Regions from separate parts of the Homo sapiens genome. Here regions 1, 2 and 4 are each linked to region 3. The links are contacts of gene promoters, found by promoter capture Hi-C in blood cells and fetal thymus (Javierre and others, 2016). All regions are on one chromosome and are shown on one strand. The core of a region is centred on a gene start or on the middle of the fragment in contact, and the rest is flanking DNA. Distances in the headings are between cores, read along the strand shown. Region 1 holds the start of PRPF40A (pre-mRNA processing factor 40A). Region 2 has its middle 5.0 kb from the start of NMI. Region 3 holds the start of ORC4 (origin recognition complex subunit 4). Region 4 holds the start of ARL5A (ARF like GTPase 5A).

Region 1 (3,627 bases), core at 148-2,647, 4.7 Mb before region 3:
TTCCCGTCCGGCGGGAGCACCGAGCGCTTTCTGGGCTCTGACCACGCCCCAGCCGAGAACTCCGCCCGCAGGTCGCGGGCCACTTGGTCGCATCCCTCCTCCTCGTCGACTTCGCCTTCACCCCAGCTGTCCCCCTGAGTAAAGGAGGAATACGATGGCCGAGCCACAGGGCCCGGGGTGCCGGGACCGCGGCGCCGCAGAGCCGACCGCCACCCGCTCTCAGCAAACGACATGGCGCGAAACACAACGAAACCCGCGGAGAACGAGCCTCTCCCACCTGCCCCGCCCCGGGTCCGCAACAGCCAATCCGCGGCAGTGGCCGCTACCACCAGGCCTCAGAGCCCAGGGGTAAACCACGGAGAGCAAGGGTGGGCGGCGGGTTGCAAAGGAAGCCGCAGGGCCAAAGGAGAGGCGGAATGCGCTTCGACCAGAGCTCGACCCCAGGGCTGTAGCCGGAAAGGGGAGCAGGAAAGCGCGCAGGGAGAAGCGAGCGGAGGCCGAAGGCTGTCGAGTATCCACTCCCTGCGGGGCTTCGTCCCGGCCGGAGACCTCCGCCACCCCCGCGTCACCAACGGGAGCGCGCGCCCCGACAGCCCCAAAGCCTCATCTTTTCGACGCCGGGTCCTAGCGCCCGCTCGCGCCCTCGGAGACACATTCCCGAACCTATTTGTCTTCTCCCTTCTTCCCCACTACGCTCACACTCTTCTCCAGGTTCCCCCATTAAGGGCACCTCTCTACCTGGCGCTCTCGCGGTTCCTTAACTGCTCACCCCCATCTCCCTTTAGTGTGGTTCTCCCCACCCGTACTACAACTTCCCTCCCGCTACTCGACACGCCTCCTTCCCCAGGCGCGCGCTCTCCACCTGGTGCGTACGGAGATCGAACCCTCTCCTCCGAACCCCTCCTTTCGCCTTCCCCGCCTCCTCCCCTCCGCCTCGAGCACCGCGCGCGCGCATTCGGTCCCAGCCACCGCTAACACTACAGGCTGCTTACCCCCGCCCCCTCCACCCTACCCCTGGCGGCCTCAGGTTTGTGGGGCGTACGTAACTCGGGCGGGGAGGGTGAAGGTGGCAGACCCCCACTGCCCCACCCCCTACGGGGTGAGGCGGTCTAAGCTCGGGAAGCTGGGACACTGTTGTCTTCCCTTCCCCTGGGGAAGTTGGTAGAGTTTTCCCGACGGAGGACTCGGCGCAGAAACTTCCTCCGTCCTCCTCCTCCCCCCCCCCCATGCAGGCGACGCCGAGTGAGGCTGAGGCTGGGGGCGAATCGCCGCAGAGCTGCGTGTCGGCGGCGCATTCTGATTGGACAGCGGGGAAGCCCGTCAGCCTGTTGGCCCCGCTGATCCCGCCCCGTAGCGCAGGGCAGCCTTTAACCTTTAGCCCCAGTGGGCGCCAGCCACTCAGATCGCTTCTTGTTGGTATGTGTAGCGGCAGTGGCCGCCGGCGGAGCAGTCTGAGCCCGACGATGAGGCCGGGGACGGGAGCTGAGCGTGGAGGCCTCATGGTGAGTGAAATGGAGAGCCATCCTCCCTCGCAGGGTCCTGGGGACGGGGAGCGGAGATTGTCCGGCTCAAGCCTCTGCTCCGGCTCTTGGGTCTCTGCTGACGGCTTCCTGAGGAGACGGCCCTCGGTAAGGGATCAGTGGGGCAGGGGGAAGGCGGCACAATGAAAAACGGAGTGAGAAACAGGAAGCTTTCTCCGAAAGGAGAAGAAGATAAGAGTGGACGAAGGAAGAACTCGAGATGGTGGGATATGTTCTGAGGGAGAGAAGTGGAGGGTGGAAATGCACAAAGAGAAGGATGTGAGACCCTGGAAGTTCCCCGTGGGCTTGGCCTAGACAGATGCGTGGTGAAGGTGCTGGCTCTTGGGCGGGGTGAGCGTCTTGGAGCTTTAGGCCCGATTTTAGCTGGGAGGGGGAGGCAGGGGCTTGATACTGTAAGACTTTAACAGCGGCTGCCAAAATTTGTTTTCATTAGTCGTCGGGGTGGTCTGCAGGGGGAACTGTTGGGACAATTGGCAGGAGATAATTAGGTGGTTTTAATTTAAAACATAGAACAATGGACTCATCGGTAAAGAAAGTAGTTGTCTTTTTAAACTGCGTTAAAAAGGATGAATTAGTTGTTTGCATTTAGTGTCCGTGAGTGACAGAACCTCAGTCTTTGAAAATGTATTTTTGGCAGAAGGAATTTTACCTGTCTTAAAGGTTATGTTAGGAAATAAGTTTGTTAGGAGTGAATTGTGCCTGGGTAGCCATACTGTTTGTGTTTTGTAAGACCGACTCTCACCTGAGTTAATTGGATAGAGCATTTTAAAGTTTAAAATCAGTAGTGTTATAAAATAACAATAGCTGGCTATCTTTTATATCTGCATGAAATAGGAGAGTTGTTGTTTTCACCATAACAGTTTTAAAATTAGTATTCAATGTGTATCCTCCAAGCTTAGCAAGCCAATTAGTAGCTGGTTAAGTCAGTGCTTAAAAAAAAGAGAGAGAAAACCTATGATCCAGCGGTCCAGGATTCATCTTAACTTTTCCCATTTTTTTACGGAATTTGCAAGCTCGTTTTAAATACTAGCAGAATGCGTTTTGTTTGAAACAAGGTATAGACTAATCCAATGATGTTATTACACATAAGCTTAATATTATGTCGCTTCAGATAACTGATCTGTTGAAATGAGATTTTTGAGAAGCATTTAGTATTATTTGCTCATTTAAAAATGTTCACTGTTTTTCAGATGGGGCACCCTGGCATGCATTATGCCCCAATGGGAATGCACCCTATGGGTCAGAGAGCGAATATGCCTCCTGTACCTCATGGAATGATGCCGCAGATGATGCCCCCTATGGGAGGGCCACCAATGGGACAAGTAAGACTGTTTTTGTTTTATTTTGCATTTATTTATTTGTTTTTGCCTCAGGTATTCTATCAAGATTTCAGAATCTAGGTCAGTAGTTATAGCTGTTTAATGATTAGTTTATGCCCGAATAATTTCAAATAAGCCAAATGTTAAATCATGACTGTAACGGAAATTTGAATAATGGAAAAGTCTTCTGAGAAATTTAAATAATGAAAAAGTCTTCTGAGAAATTTACTGATGACCTCAAAACTAAGAATTTTTTTCTTTATTATTTAAAAGTAAAGTGTGGATCCAGGCTTTTATTTTTAATGATTATTTTTTCAAGAATGCCAATTGAAGTTGATGGTCTAAGTAAATATTATCTGATACAGCAACATAACTGATTTTGGTAGACCATGTAAATAAATAGAATCTGAAAATAGCTATTGTTTTGGTTTAGAGCGAATTTTATTCCTGAAATATCTTCCTCTTTGTGTGTTGGAGGAGGGTGAGGGAGGGTGGGGAGTTTGTGCTCTATAATTCTGATTCTTCATAGGACAGTGCCAATAGGTAGTTCATTTTCCACTTATACTATTTTTTTTTAATGCTTGTTGCTTCTACACTCCTGCTTATGAGCTGTCCCTTCCATCTCTAGCATAAATTGTAAATGGACATTTTGTAGGAGTGATTTGGATCAAAAGGTTTTAATGCTGATTCAGTGATTTCGGTAGAACTGAGTTTCTAGAGAAGCATCCAAGAAAGGTAACAGGTTCAGTTACCATGAGTAATTTTGT
Region 2 (3,421 bases), core at 269-2,768, 3.3 Mb before region 3:
GCCGTGCGCCCGCACTCCTCAGCCCTTGGGTGGTCCATGGGACTGGGTGCGTGGAGCAGGGGGCGGCGCTCGTCGGGGAGGCTCGGGCCCCACAGGAACCCACGGAGGCGCGGGGGAGGCTCAGGCATGGCGGGCTGCAGGTCCCGGGCCGTGCCCCGTGGGAAGGCAGCTAAGGCCCGGCGAGAAATTGAGCACAGCAGCTGCTGGCCCAGGTGCTAAGCCCCTCACTGCCCGGGGCCGCCCGCCGCTCTCAGTGCGGGGCCCGCCAAGCCCACGCCCACCCGTAACTCGCGCTGTCCTGCAAGCACCGCGCGCAGCCCCGATTCCCCCCGCGCCTCTCCCTCCACATCTCCTCGCAAGCTGAGGGAGCCGGCTCCGGCCTTGGCCAGCCCAGAAAGGGGCTTCCATAGTGCAGTGGCGGGGCCAAAGGGCTCCTCAAGTGCCGCCAAAGTGGGAGCCCAGGCAGAGGAGGCGCCGAGAGCGAGGGAGGGCTGCGAGGACTGCCAGCACGCTGTCACCTCTTACAAGAAACAGCACCATCAGCATCATCTAGGAGCTTTTGGAATGCAAAATATCCACCCTAATCCTACAGAATCAGAATGTATATTTTAACATGATCTTCAGCTGATTTATATGGACATGGAAGTTTGTCAAACACTGGTGTACAGAAAGTCTTCTTGCCCAAAAACATATTTTTCCCTATCTTGTAACTATGCCACACATTTCAAGGGAGATCCACAGAAATAATTTATTATATCAAGATATATATTAGGCTGGGCGAATATATATCTTCGTAGATACATATTAATCTATTTTGATAGATTAATTAGGTGGTGGCTCATGCCTGTAATCCCAGCACTTTGGGAGGCTGAGGCTGGTGGATTGCTTGAGTCCAAGAGTTCGAGACCAGCCTGGGAAATGTGGCGAAACCCCAATCTCTATAAAAAATATACACATAAAAAATTAGCCGGCTGGGCGTGGTGGCGTGCACCTCTGGTTTCAGCTACTGGGGAGGCTGAGGTGGGAGGATCTCTTGAGCCCCAAGGCAGAGGTTGTAGTGAGCCAAGATCACGCCACAACACTCCAGCATAGGTGAGTGAGACCCTTTCTCAAAATATATATATGTGTGTGTGGGGGGGGGGGGCGGCGGGAGGGAATTACATTCCTATACTTAGGCTCACTAAGACCAACCAGAAGACAAATTTAACGTAGTACAAAAAGTTGAGCTCCTTTGCCTCTTACTTTTTTTTTTTTTTTTTTTTTTTGAGACGGAGTCTCGCTCTGTCACCCAGGCTGGAGTGCAGTGGCGCGATCTCGGCTCACTGCAAGCTCTGCCTCCCAGGTTCAAGCGATTCTCCTGCCTCAGCCTCCCGAGTAGCTGGGACTACAGGTGCCCGCCACCACGCCCTGCTAATTTTTTTGCATTTTTAGTAGAGACGGGGTTTCACTGTGTTAGCCAGGATGGTCTCGATCTCCTGACCTCGTGATCCGCCCACCTCGGCCTCCCAAAGTGCTGGGATTACAGGTGTGAGCCACCGCGCCCGGCCACCTCTTACGTTTTTTAAAATTCTGGATAGGTTAGTGACTAGTGAGTTTCTTTGTTGCAATCATTTGATACCTCTTGTAAAGTACTATTTCAGACAGGAAAATAATCAGAAACAACATATTCAAACACCAATCCAAATCTTGCTGCTTGACAATTTCTAGAATGCCTCTGGCAGCCCCATCAGGCAAAACAGACTACAAATTCCCAAATTAAAAAACATAGTCAAGGCTGGGTGCGGTGGCTCACGCCTGTAATCCCAGCACTTTGGGAAGCTGAGGCAGGTGGATCACGAGGTCAGGAGACCGAGACCATCCTGGCTAACACGGTGAAACCCTGTCTCTACTAAAAAACAAACAAATAAAACAAACAAACAAACAAACAAAAAACAATTAGCCGGGTGTGGTGGCGGGCGCCTGTAGTTCCAGCTACTAAGGAGGCTAAGGCTGGAAAATGGCGTGAACCCGGGAGGTGGAGCTTGCAGTGAGCCGAGATCGTGCCACTGCACTCTAGCCTTGGCGACAGAGCCAGACTCCATCTCAAAAACAAACAAACAAAACAAAAACAAAAATAAACAAAAATATAGTCAAGCAAAATACATGTCTTTTAGTATTTCCTTAGCTGTTTTCACTATGTTTATGCATGTTTTCTTAAAAACTGAGCTCCCTGAGAAGCTGAATTGACATATTTGGATGCTTTGCTCAATTCTTTCTCATTTGAGATTTTTGGCGATAAAAGTTAATATTTTTATTTTTCCAGCATTCCAAGGCTATGTTCTCTTTGGGTCTCTGAAAACCTCAAGATTCACTGGGCTTTTTCTCCTTTGTGATTTTAGGTTCAAAGCAAACAGTTGGGTTTATCCGACCATCAGTTCATCCTATGAGAGTTCTGTCAGAAGCCATTTTTGGTTTATAATTGAGAAAAGCAAAGCAGGAAAACATCAGCAGTATTCTCAGACTTTCTTTAAGAAATTTCCTTAATATAATATTGAGATTTACTGCTATCTTACAGCCTTGAATACTACAGATAAATGTTTATTTTTGAGCCTTTAGTTTATAAGCAAAACACTAATTGTTCTTCTTTATAGCATTGTCAAGGATACCAACTTTATTCTCTATGTACTTTATTTAACACAACAAAATTTTCTAAGTGATTGTTTATGTTTATATGATAAATCAGTGGTCCAGGCAGATTTGACAAGATAAAGTCCTTTATTCTTTAATTTTATTATTATTATTTTGCTTGAATTTATTTCTATTTCTAAGTATTTGATCTACCTCATAATATTTTATTCACTTATAAAAACTTATTCACACACATGAGTATGAAAAGCTATACAAAGGGGTTGTTATAACATTGGGTCCAGAGTATTTTACTCCTACTCTAGTATTTAATGACTAGTTAGAAATAACTATTTATACAGTGTGCACTAGGTACAGTTACTGCAGGTAACATAAAATAAATTTTTAAATGACCTTATTTCTTAAAAGTACTTTTCTAGGGAGGAAGAACAAAGATAAAGAAAATGTAAGAGAAAAATTGAAAAAAAATCTCACCGTAGTATAAGATGAAACAAGTACAATTTAGTGAGTGCTTTCCATGGGCAGAGCACTGTGTTTAGTCCTTGAAATGCATCTCTATCTCATGCACCACACCTTTATTTTATAGATGAGAAAATTGAAGCTGAGAAACTTCAGTAACTAAAAATTGAAATTCAAACCCATTTCTGACACCAAAACCATGCTTTATTTATTTATTTACTTTTTGACAGGGTCTCGTGCTATTGCCCAGGTTGAAGTACAGTGGTGCAGTCACAGCTCACTGCAGCCTTGAACTCCTGGACTCAAGTGATTCTTCTGCCTCAGTTTCCACAAATGC
Region 3 (3,734 bases), core at 498-2,997:
TAGCTAATATTCTCATCATATGGAAAATAAGTATCAGGAACGTATGTGGGAACAGACAATAGCAGTGGCATTTAAACTTTAAGCATTTTAGAGCTTTGGACTTTATATACTGATATATGAAACAGACATTTAACCAAAAAAAAAGCAATAATGCAAGTCAAAACCTAACCAAAGGCCTCTACCAACTAAAAATTTGAAATTTTCCATGGAAGTCAGACAAAACGAAAAAATGGAAAATGAAACCCTTAAAGCAAAAACCAATCAAGTCTTCCAACACTGAAGTCAATATCCAAATCTCATACAGGACCAAAAAGGGGAAAACACTCAGGTCTACAAATGGATAAGCAGTTCCAATACAATCCAGATCCCGACATTTTCCCACTCAGAAACAAATGCAGTGGAGCTTTTCCTGGAGAAAAAGAGCTCTCCAATGAATTTTTTTTAAGTGACATCTAGAAAGTGTGCCTCTTTCTGTCTCTTTCCCTGGCGCCTCATTGGAGGAAGGAGGGGGTTGTTTTTGTATTCTCCCCCACTGGAGCAAGACACAATCAGATGTTAGATGGAGGAGAGAAACCACTTTTGACAACAGCAAATAAAAATAAAAGTGCCCTTCCTCCCCTGACAGGATGGGCACCCCACCTCACACACCCCTCCCTACTCCAACCCCTCCTTCACCCCCCCCAGCACCACCCCCTCCTCACCCCGGAGCTCCACTGCGTATGTGGTTTGGTGCTACTGTTGCCCCGGAGTGAAAGTCAGAGCCAGAGGAAGGCAATGAAGCCCCCACAGACACACTTACCTTTCCTGCCCCCCACTTTTGAGTGCCTTCCCTGGAGCTGTGGAGGATGACACAAAGGGTAATAAAGGGGGGGAGTGGAGGAGGAGGAGGCGAAGGAGGAGGAGGAGAGCTGGGGAAGTGGCTGCTCCTGGGTGTAGTGAGATGTCTCCAGCCAGGGCCAAGCAGCAGCAGTAGCAGCAGCAGCAGTAGCAGCAGCAGCAGCAACAGCAGCAGCAGCAGCAACAGCAGCAGCAAAGGGTCTGTGTTGCTAAGAGGCTTTTGGTTTCTTTCTCTCCTCCTCTCACGGCCAAAGAGGAGGAGGGTGGAGGGAGGGAGGCGAGTTGGAGGGGTGAGGGGGTAGGAGTCGTGGATGGGGGTTTTCGAAGAAGAAGAAACTCCTTCTCCTCTCTCAGGCTCAATCCCCCTCTCAGGGCTCAGGGCTGGAGGGTGGGGGAAGGAACTCAGCCGCCTTCCCCCCACCCCCCTGAATTCAAGGTTGAAGTGGGGTAGAATTAGTGTCCTGTCCCTTTAAAAATAGAAATAAAAGGTGCCCCCCCTCTGCCACTGCCTCTCTCTTCATCATCAGCTGCTGCTGCTGCTGGGGTCTCTCTGCTTGGGGGGGAGGGGGGGTTCGGGTAGAAGAGACGGGAGGCACTCACTGCGCATGTCCCTCTCTGACGGGTGGCTGGTTGGTTGAAGGCAGGAGGAGGGGGAGGGGAGGAAATGAGCTATTTTCCCAGAAGGCGTCGAGGCGCTAGCGACCCGGAAGACATTGTAGCGGGAGGTACAGGAGCGGGGGCGGGGAGGAGGAGGAAGTCGCTACGCTTTTAACACCCCCAGCTCCCTCCTCCTTCCTAAGGGAAAGTGGAGGAACGGAAGTGGGCGTGGACGGAGACGAAAGGAGGTCACGTGTTTGGGCGGGAGAGGGGCGGGGTGGGAGAGGTAGTGCGTGCGCGGGGCATGCCGGGAGTGGTTGTGTACGGTCCGCAGCGGCAGGTGAAGTCTAGCAGAGGACGCGGCCAGGCGATTCGGTGAAGCGATTCCTGCAGGCGTTGGTTCCCCTCTTTGACCTGGTAAATGCAGGCTTTTATGCGAGAGGTAATGGTGGGGGTAAACTTGCTGCAAACGAAGGCCAGGGGCGTCGGTGGCGCAAGGTGAATCGAAAGTGGGAGGATGGAAGGCTGTGGAGATTGGGAATTGGGAAGGGGGCAGGCTTGTATAGGCCGGGAAGGCCAGGACCAGGCGAGCTCCGTCTTGTGGCCACTCCCGCCCCGTGAGCTTGCCGAGGAATCCTTGACAAGTGCAGGGATCCTGAGTCTACCTCTGCATCGGGGTAGTAGGTGAGGAGCGTGACGGTCCGAGTGTAAGAGAGAAGGGAACTGTGAAGCCTCAGCAATTGACCCTCATGACTGCAGGACGGAGGACTTCTATCTAGGGACAGAGACAAGTCCTCTGTATGCATTTTGACCAGATGCATCACACGCGTTGCTCATATTGGATATTGCGCCCTTCATGCCTTACCTCTCAACCCTCCCTGGTATTCTGGAGTGGCTTTGGGGAAGGAGCAGGCAGGGAAGTCTTGAGTGGAGCTTCCCTCCATGTCTTGCGTTGTTGCTACAACACAAAGCCTTTGCTTTTTCTCGGAGAGGGATGTGGGATTGTGTAGTCCTTAATGTTGAGTTCTACGATTGATGAAGGAGAAGGGACGTGATCAAAGTTTCCCCTTATAGTGTAGATGAGAGTTTTAAAAGGACTGTTTTGTCAAGTTTCTTTGGTTACTATTCTTAGTTTTTGAGCCTTTGGTTTCCCAAATGCCAGCTGTTTTTGCTGAAAATAATGAATTTCTATCATAAAATTAGAATTAACTCAAAATATTTAAGAAAGGATTTATAAATTTACATTAGTAAAGCTTTTATAGTGAAACAGTGCTGGTTCTTTTTCATTGTTTTCATACAATCAATATAAAGCATCACAGTCTCAATATGTTTTGTAAAGATATTTTGAAGGAATATCATCTTTGTATGTTTTTTAAAAACCAAGAATCTAAAATTCTTCGTATTTATTATGTTGGTACTTAATTCTGTTGGGTGGGTTCTTTTTGTTTGTTTTTTGTTTTGAGACGGAGTCTCGCTCTGTCTCCCAGACGAGTGCAGTGGCGCGATCTCGGCTCACTGCAACCTCTGTCTCCTGGGTTCAAGCAGTTCTCCTGCCTCACCCTCCCGAGTAGCTGAAACTACAGGCATGTGCCACCACGCCTGGCTAATTTTTTTGTGTTTTCAGTAGGGACGGGGTTTCACCATGTTGGTCAGGCTGGTCTCGATCTCTTGACCTCAAATGATCCTCCCGCCTCGGCCTCCCAAAGTGCTGGGATTACAGGCGTGAGCCACCGCGCCCGGCCGGTGTAGGTTCTTTAGGTGTACACTATCAGTTAAAGTTACTAATTTTCCACGTTTTGCTTTCTGTAAGTTTGGGCAGTGGACCCCGTTTATGCATCATTGCTTAGCCCTTAGTATCTTCTGTATTGTGTACGGTAATCATGTCCGATGGAATCAAAACTAGACTCCTGTGCTTTAAAATTTTCTTTGTAGTGTAACCAATTGTCTGTCTTTATAGTGTAACCAATTGTCTGCCACTTTGTAATGAAAAAAAAAAATACCAGCAAGGCAGTTAATGTGCCTTAGCTACAATTTTAAATATTTTGTGTCTTTTTCCATACATTTAGTATTTAAGCATACAAACATCGATACATAGTATAATGAAAAACTATAAAGTGTGAACTCTATGTAAGCGCTGCCACAGTCAAGAACTAGAACGTCTGTGGCACCTGAGAAGCTCCCCTCTCCATTCTATTCCTGATCATCCCTTTCCTCAATTCTTTTCAGTGGTTAACACTATACTGATTTTTATGGCAATCATTTACTGCTTTCTTTCTTAGTATTTCTTAACCACCTATGTC
Region 4 (3,736 bases), core at 613-3,112, 3.8 Mb before region 3:
AGTGTGGCCCAGGGAAGCTAAAAGATTGGACACCCCTGTCCTATATATTCAGTTCTCTTCACTCTGGCTGAAGGGAACTCAAATGATTCCTGACCCGTTGTAATCTCTGGGAATCATTTGCATTACAGTTTCCTGGTACTTATTTTTCCTCAGGAATTGTGACTGACCAGCCTCTTGGGGGTTCATACTGCACGAGCACAAATTGATATGCAGCCAAAGACTCAATGGCCCCTTAACAGGTTTCCAGAGCTTTTCTCTGTGTAGCTCCCTCCTTCCAGTTACTCTGCTTCACAAATTCTAGTCACCTTGATCTCTGGGAATGCTGATATGCGTCTTCAGTTCTAAGAGGTTTCCAGATTCTCATTTGGGTTCCCACTTCCTCCGTAGTTGACTGGGAATTGCTTTTAGGGATAAAGTCCAGGAAATGGTAAGACTCCACCTGTTCCTTTCTCTTTTGCAAAGAATCACAGTACTGTGATGTGTTTTTCAATATCTGAAATGTCGTTGCCTGTACTTTGTGCAGTTTTCTATTTGCTAATGGTAGGAGGATATATTCAAACCATCCTACTCTCTCATGCCTGAAGTCAGAAGTCTCTCCAATGACATTTTGCATTTCTCTGTAATCATAGATAAATTGGTCTTTAAACTCTCTGTCTCTGTCTCTCTCTCTCTCTTCTTTCTTCACTCGGAAAATAACCTGGGAGACCATTTCCTTGGGTAGATTGTAAAATATGAAGCTCCGCCATCACATAATGTGTATATGACATCCATTTCATAAGTTGACATCTGTGTGGGAGTCTGAAAAAGTCTTAGAGCTACCAAAGCATTACCTACGGTGTGCGAGAATGGAAATATTACAGAGTTAATGCAAATTGGTTATACAAACTACATTGTTCTTCTAAACAGTGTACAGAATATTAAGTAAATCCAGACATGATAATACATAAATTAATATGGATTACTATGATTTTCCTTCCCTTCATGTATGGCTCCTCTAAACTTTGGCTTTTTAACCATAAAGCCCCAAAAGAAGTCAACGAAATTACTTTTCTATATTTTGAGGTAAAATACTGGGTAGTTAGGAGAAGTGAGTTGGGAAGGTGCGGTTTATTGCTGATTTTGCTTAATTTCATTCAGCTGTTGGGGATGGGAGTGCAAAGCAGTTCAAATGGCTCCTACAAGTCTCCCAATTTTTCTTTATTTTCCTTTTTACTAAGGTTAACGAGAACAGAAAGGGATGGAGCTTTGGTGGCCACTAAAGGTTTTTAAACAGGGTAGTGACTTGATCAAAATCGTTGTTTTGGGCAATACTGACGTGAGAGTTAAGAGATTGGAGAGAAAAGAGCCCTGAAGTGCAAAAATGGCTTTAAGGTGACTATCTAGGTAAGGCCACTGACTTCAGCTGAGTGTCAGAGGGCAGCAGACTTTTCCCTCAAAGACCCACAGGGGACACAATGTCTTAAAGAGTCATGACGTGGAACTTTAAGTGTAGTGTATGTGAAGGGTTGGGGATGGACATGGGGTACTCAATTATATGTTTACATTATGGCGCAGTGGAGAAGATTCGAGGGAAATATAAATACTCGGGGACGCAACAGCAAGCAGTCGGAAGCCATCTGCCCCAACTTGCGGTCTTCACAGCCTCAGTCCCAGGGTAAAGTCCTGCGCCTTCCGCAGTCTTGGTTATGCAAATAAGCGAGGACAGGGCGGGCGCCCTTTCCTACGCTCCGCCCCTCTGGCCGCGCGCCTGCGCACTCACGTCCCTCCAGGCCCGCCCCTTCACTTCCCCCGCCCGCGTGGTCGTCGCCACCGCAGCCGCCCGAGAGGAGCTGGGGGAGGACGGTGGCCCGCGAGGCTCGTCGCAGACAACGCGGCGGCGATGTCCGCGAGCCAGGCGAGTGCCGCGGCGGCAGCGGCGGGGCCTTGCGCGCGGCAGGGCGGCCTGGGCTTCGGCCTCCCTCCGGTTCCCTGGAAGCGGGCCCGCGACCAGCGCGGGAGCAGCAGCAGAGGCGGAGGCTCCAGCGCGTCTCTCTCCTCCCCCTCAGCCTGAGCCGGGGGAAGCCAGGCGGCCCGGGTGTCTGGAGGGGGGGGGTCCGCTGCCCGAGAATGGGAATTCTCTTCACTAGAATATGGAGACTGTTCAATCACCAGGGTGAGGAGCTCGGTCCGCGGGCGTACGGGTTGGGGAGAGGGTCAGCTCGGGCCGGCTAGGTGGGGGTCTCCGAATACTTCGGAATGTGGGCGGCTCGGTCGGGCGCCAGCTCAGCGCGGGGTGCAGGCTGCGCGGATACGGGCCCGGGACGGTTCGGTCCCGGCTCCCGAGCTTGGGGATGGTTCCTGACTCGCAGCCCTTTGTCTTAGGAGACCTTCCTAAGAAGTCTTTTCCGTAATAGACCCATTGCTCCGATTTCGAATGAGAGTGGTAAAGGTTTCTTGCCCTAGGTCCGACGTCCCTGAGTAGCACGGCCTGGCCTGTCTTTCAGCCCTTTCTTTGCTCACCAGTTGTGTTTGGACACCACATAGAAGTGCTGGGGTCTTCTGGAATGAAGGTTATAGATTGCTGCCCTAACCGCACCACTGAGCGACCGAGGGTTGCAGAATGCGGAAAACGGGAGGAATCGCTCGACTTGTCCATTACACCTCTGGTTTATGAGCCTGCCCTCCACTGCCACCCGTCTTTGTGTGTGTTGGGGGCAGGGGGGGTTCTTCTGCCTCCTGAATAGAGATGGACTTCTCTCCATTTGTTTTACTTATTATATCTGTGTTTAAGGTTAAGCTTAAGGTCATTTTTCTACTCGTGTGGGTTATTAGACACAGTTTTTGTTTGTTTTGCTGGGTTAAAAATGTTAAAGTGTTTCACTGAAAGTTTTAAAAACATACCATATGAAACATTTGTTAACCATAGGTAACTAGCAAGTTACTAAGTGTAAAGTGTGTTATATAGGGATGCTTAAGTTCAGCCAACTTCAGACATGGCCATGAAATACCTATCAGGCTTGTTAAAATTTGTTACAAAATGACTAAAACTGGGGAAAGAGAATACAATTTTAACCCAAAGACTGGATACTTATTAAGATACAGTGGTGTACTTTTGTTTCTTTTTAACTCAAGTTGGGTGGTTCATCATTCCGCTGTCAGGAACTTAGTTTGTGTTTTTCTGTTGTGTAAGCTGATGGTGTCACGTCCCAGTTTTCCAATAAAGACTTACGTGAATGGTGGCATCTATTATGTACACCTACTACTACCACCTCCTCCTTCATGATCTAGCTGCTCTTTTAAGAAGCTTAGGGGAAGCAAGCAGAACTAGAACTTGTGATCCCTAATGTATCTTTTACGCACACACACACACACACAGATGTGTAGGTCACGTGATACCGAAAGAAAGGGCAGTATCAATTTTTCTGATAAGAGGATTTTTCATAAAGTAGAGAAAATCAGTTCTAATCAGCACTGTCTCTGACTGGACTGGCTGTTAGTGTTGGGAGCAGGAGAGTGGGAAGCAGTCACTTGAACTCTCAGGTTTTCTGGTCTAGGTTTTCTCACCTAGAACACCAGGGATCTGTGGAGCTTCCAAATCTTGTAAACTTTATTTCTACATTGCAAATATTAAAACGTACATTGCTGTAAGACTGATGGTACTTATAGTAGATAAGATCTATTCTAGTTTTAACATCCATCATTTTGTATTATTTTTAGCAAAGCTAGTGTTTCATCTGCTGTGAGGTTTAGCAAGACT

What was found. Contacts are between HindIII fragments. The CHiCAGO score rates a contact against its expected background, and 5 or more counts as called.
Region 1: the fragment with the promoter of PRPF40A here is called in contact with the fragment with the promoter of ORC4 in region 3 in 2 of 17 cell types (fetal thymus and total CD4 T cells); the score reaches 6.9 in fetal thymus.
Region 2: a fragment that was not itself captured here is called in contact with the fragment with the promoter of ORC4 in region 3 in 2 of 17 cell types (naive CD8 T cells and total CD4 T cells); the score reaches 6.6 in naive CD8 T cells.
Region 4: a contact is called between the fragment with the promoter of ARL5A here and the fragment with the promoter of ORC4 in region 3, in 2 of 17 cell types (fetal thymus and total CD8 T cells). The highest score is 7.6, in fetal thymus.

What each region holds. Positions count from the first base shown.
Region 1 is chr2:152,715,231-152,718,857 of GRCh38, reverse strand. PRPF40A (pre-mRNA processing factor 40A) reads left to right here and starts at 1,397. Exons shown (of 26, transcript NM_001365597.4): 1 at 1,397-1,628; 2 at 2,732-2,863. The coding sequence starts at 1,419. ARL6IP6 (ARF like GTPase 6 interacting protein 6) reads right to left here and starts at 238. Exons shown (of 4, transcript NM_152522.7): 1 at 1-238. The coding sequence starts at 233. RefSeq lists enhancers at 68-267, 498-587, 608-677, 144-849, 1,398-1,697 and 1 more and a silencer at 898-997. The HindIII fragment of the contact is 8,844 bases long and covers 1-1,692 here.
Region 2 is chr2:151,292,930-151,296,350 of GRCh38, reverse strand. No RefSeq gene overlaps it. Among named protein-coding and RNA genes, the nearest start is that of NMI, 5.0 kb to the right of the region's middle. The HindIII fragment of the contact is 4,328 bases long and covers 1-3,421 here.
Region 3 is chr2:148,018,750-148,022,483 of GRCh38, reverse strand. ORC4 (origin recognition complex subunit 4) reads left to right here and starts at 1,747. Exons shown (of 14, transcript NM_181741.4): 1 at 1,747-1,851. It overlaps MBD5 (methyl-CpG binding domain protein 5), which reads right to left and starts at 1,393. Exons shown (of 14, transcript NM_001378120.1): 1 at 800-1,393. RefSeq lists enhancers at 1,226-1,325, 1,505-2,102 and a silencer at 1,676-1,835. The HindIII fragment of the contact is 3,631 bases long and covers 1-2,689 here.
Region 4 is chr2:151,826,547-151,830,282 of GRCh38, reverse strand. It overlaps ARL5A (ARF like GTPase 5A), which reads left to right and starts at 1,862. Exons shown (of 6, transcript NM_012097.4): 1 at 1,862-2,152. The coding sequence starts at 2,107. RefSeq lists an enhancer at 1,537-1,586 and silencers at 1,637-2,146, 2,197-2,246. The HindIII fragment of the contact is 9,661 bases long and covers 1-2,778 here.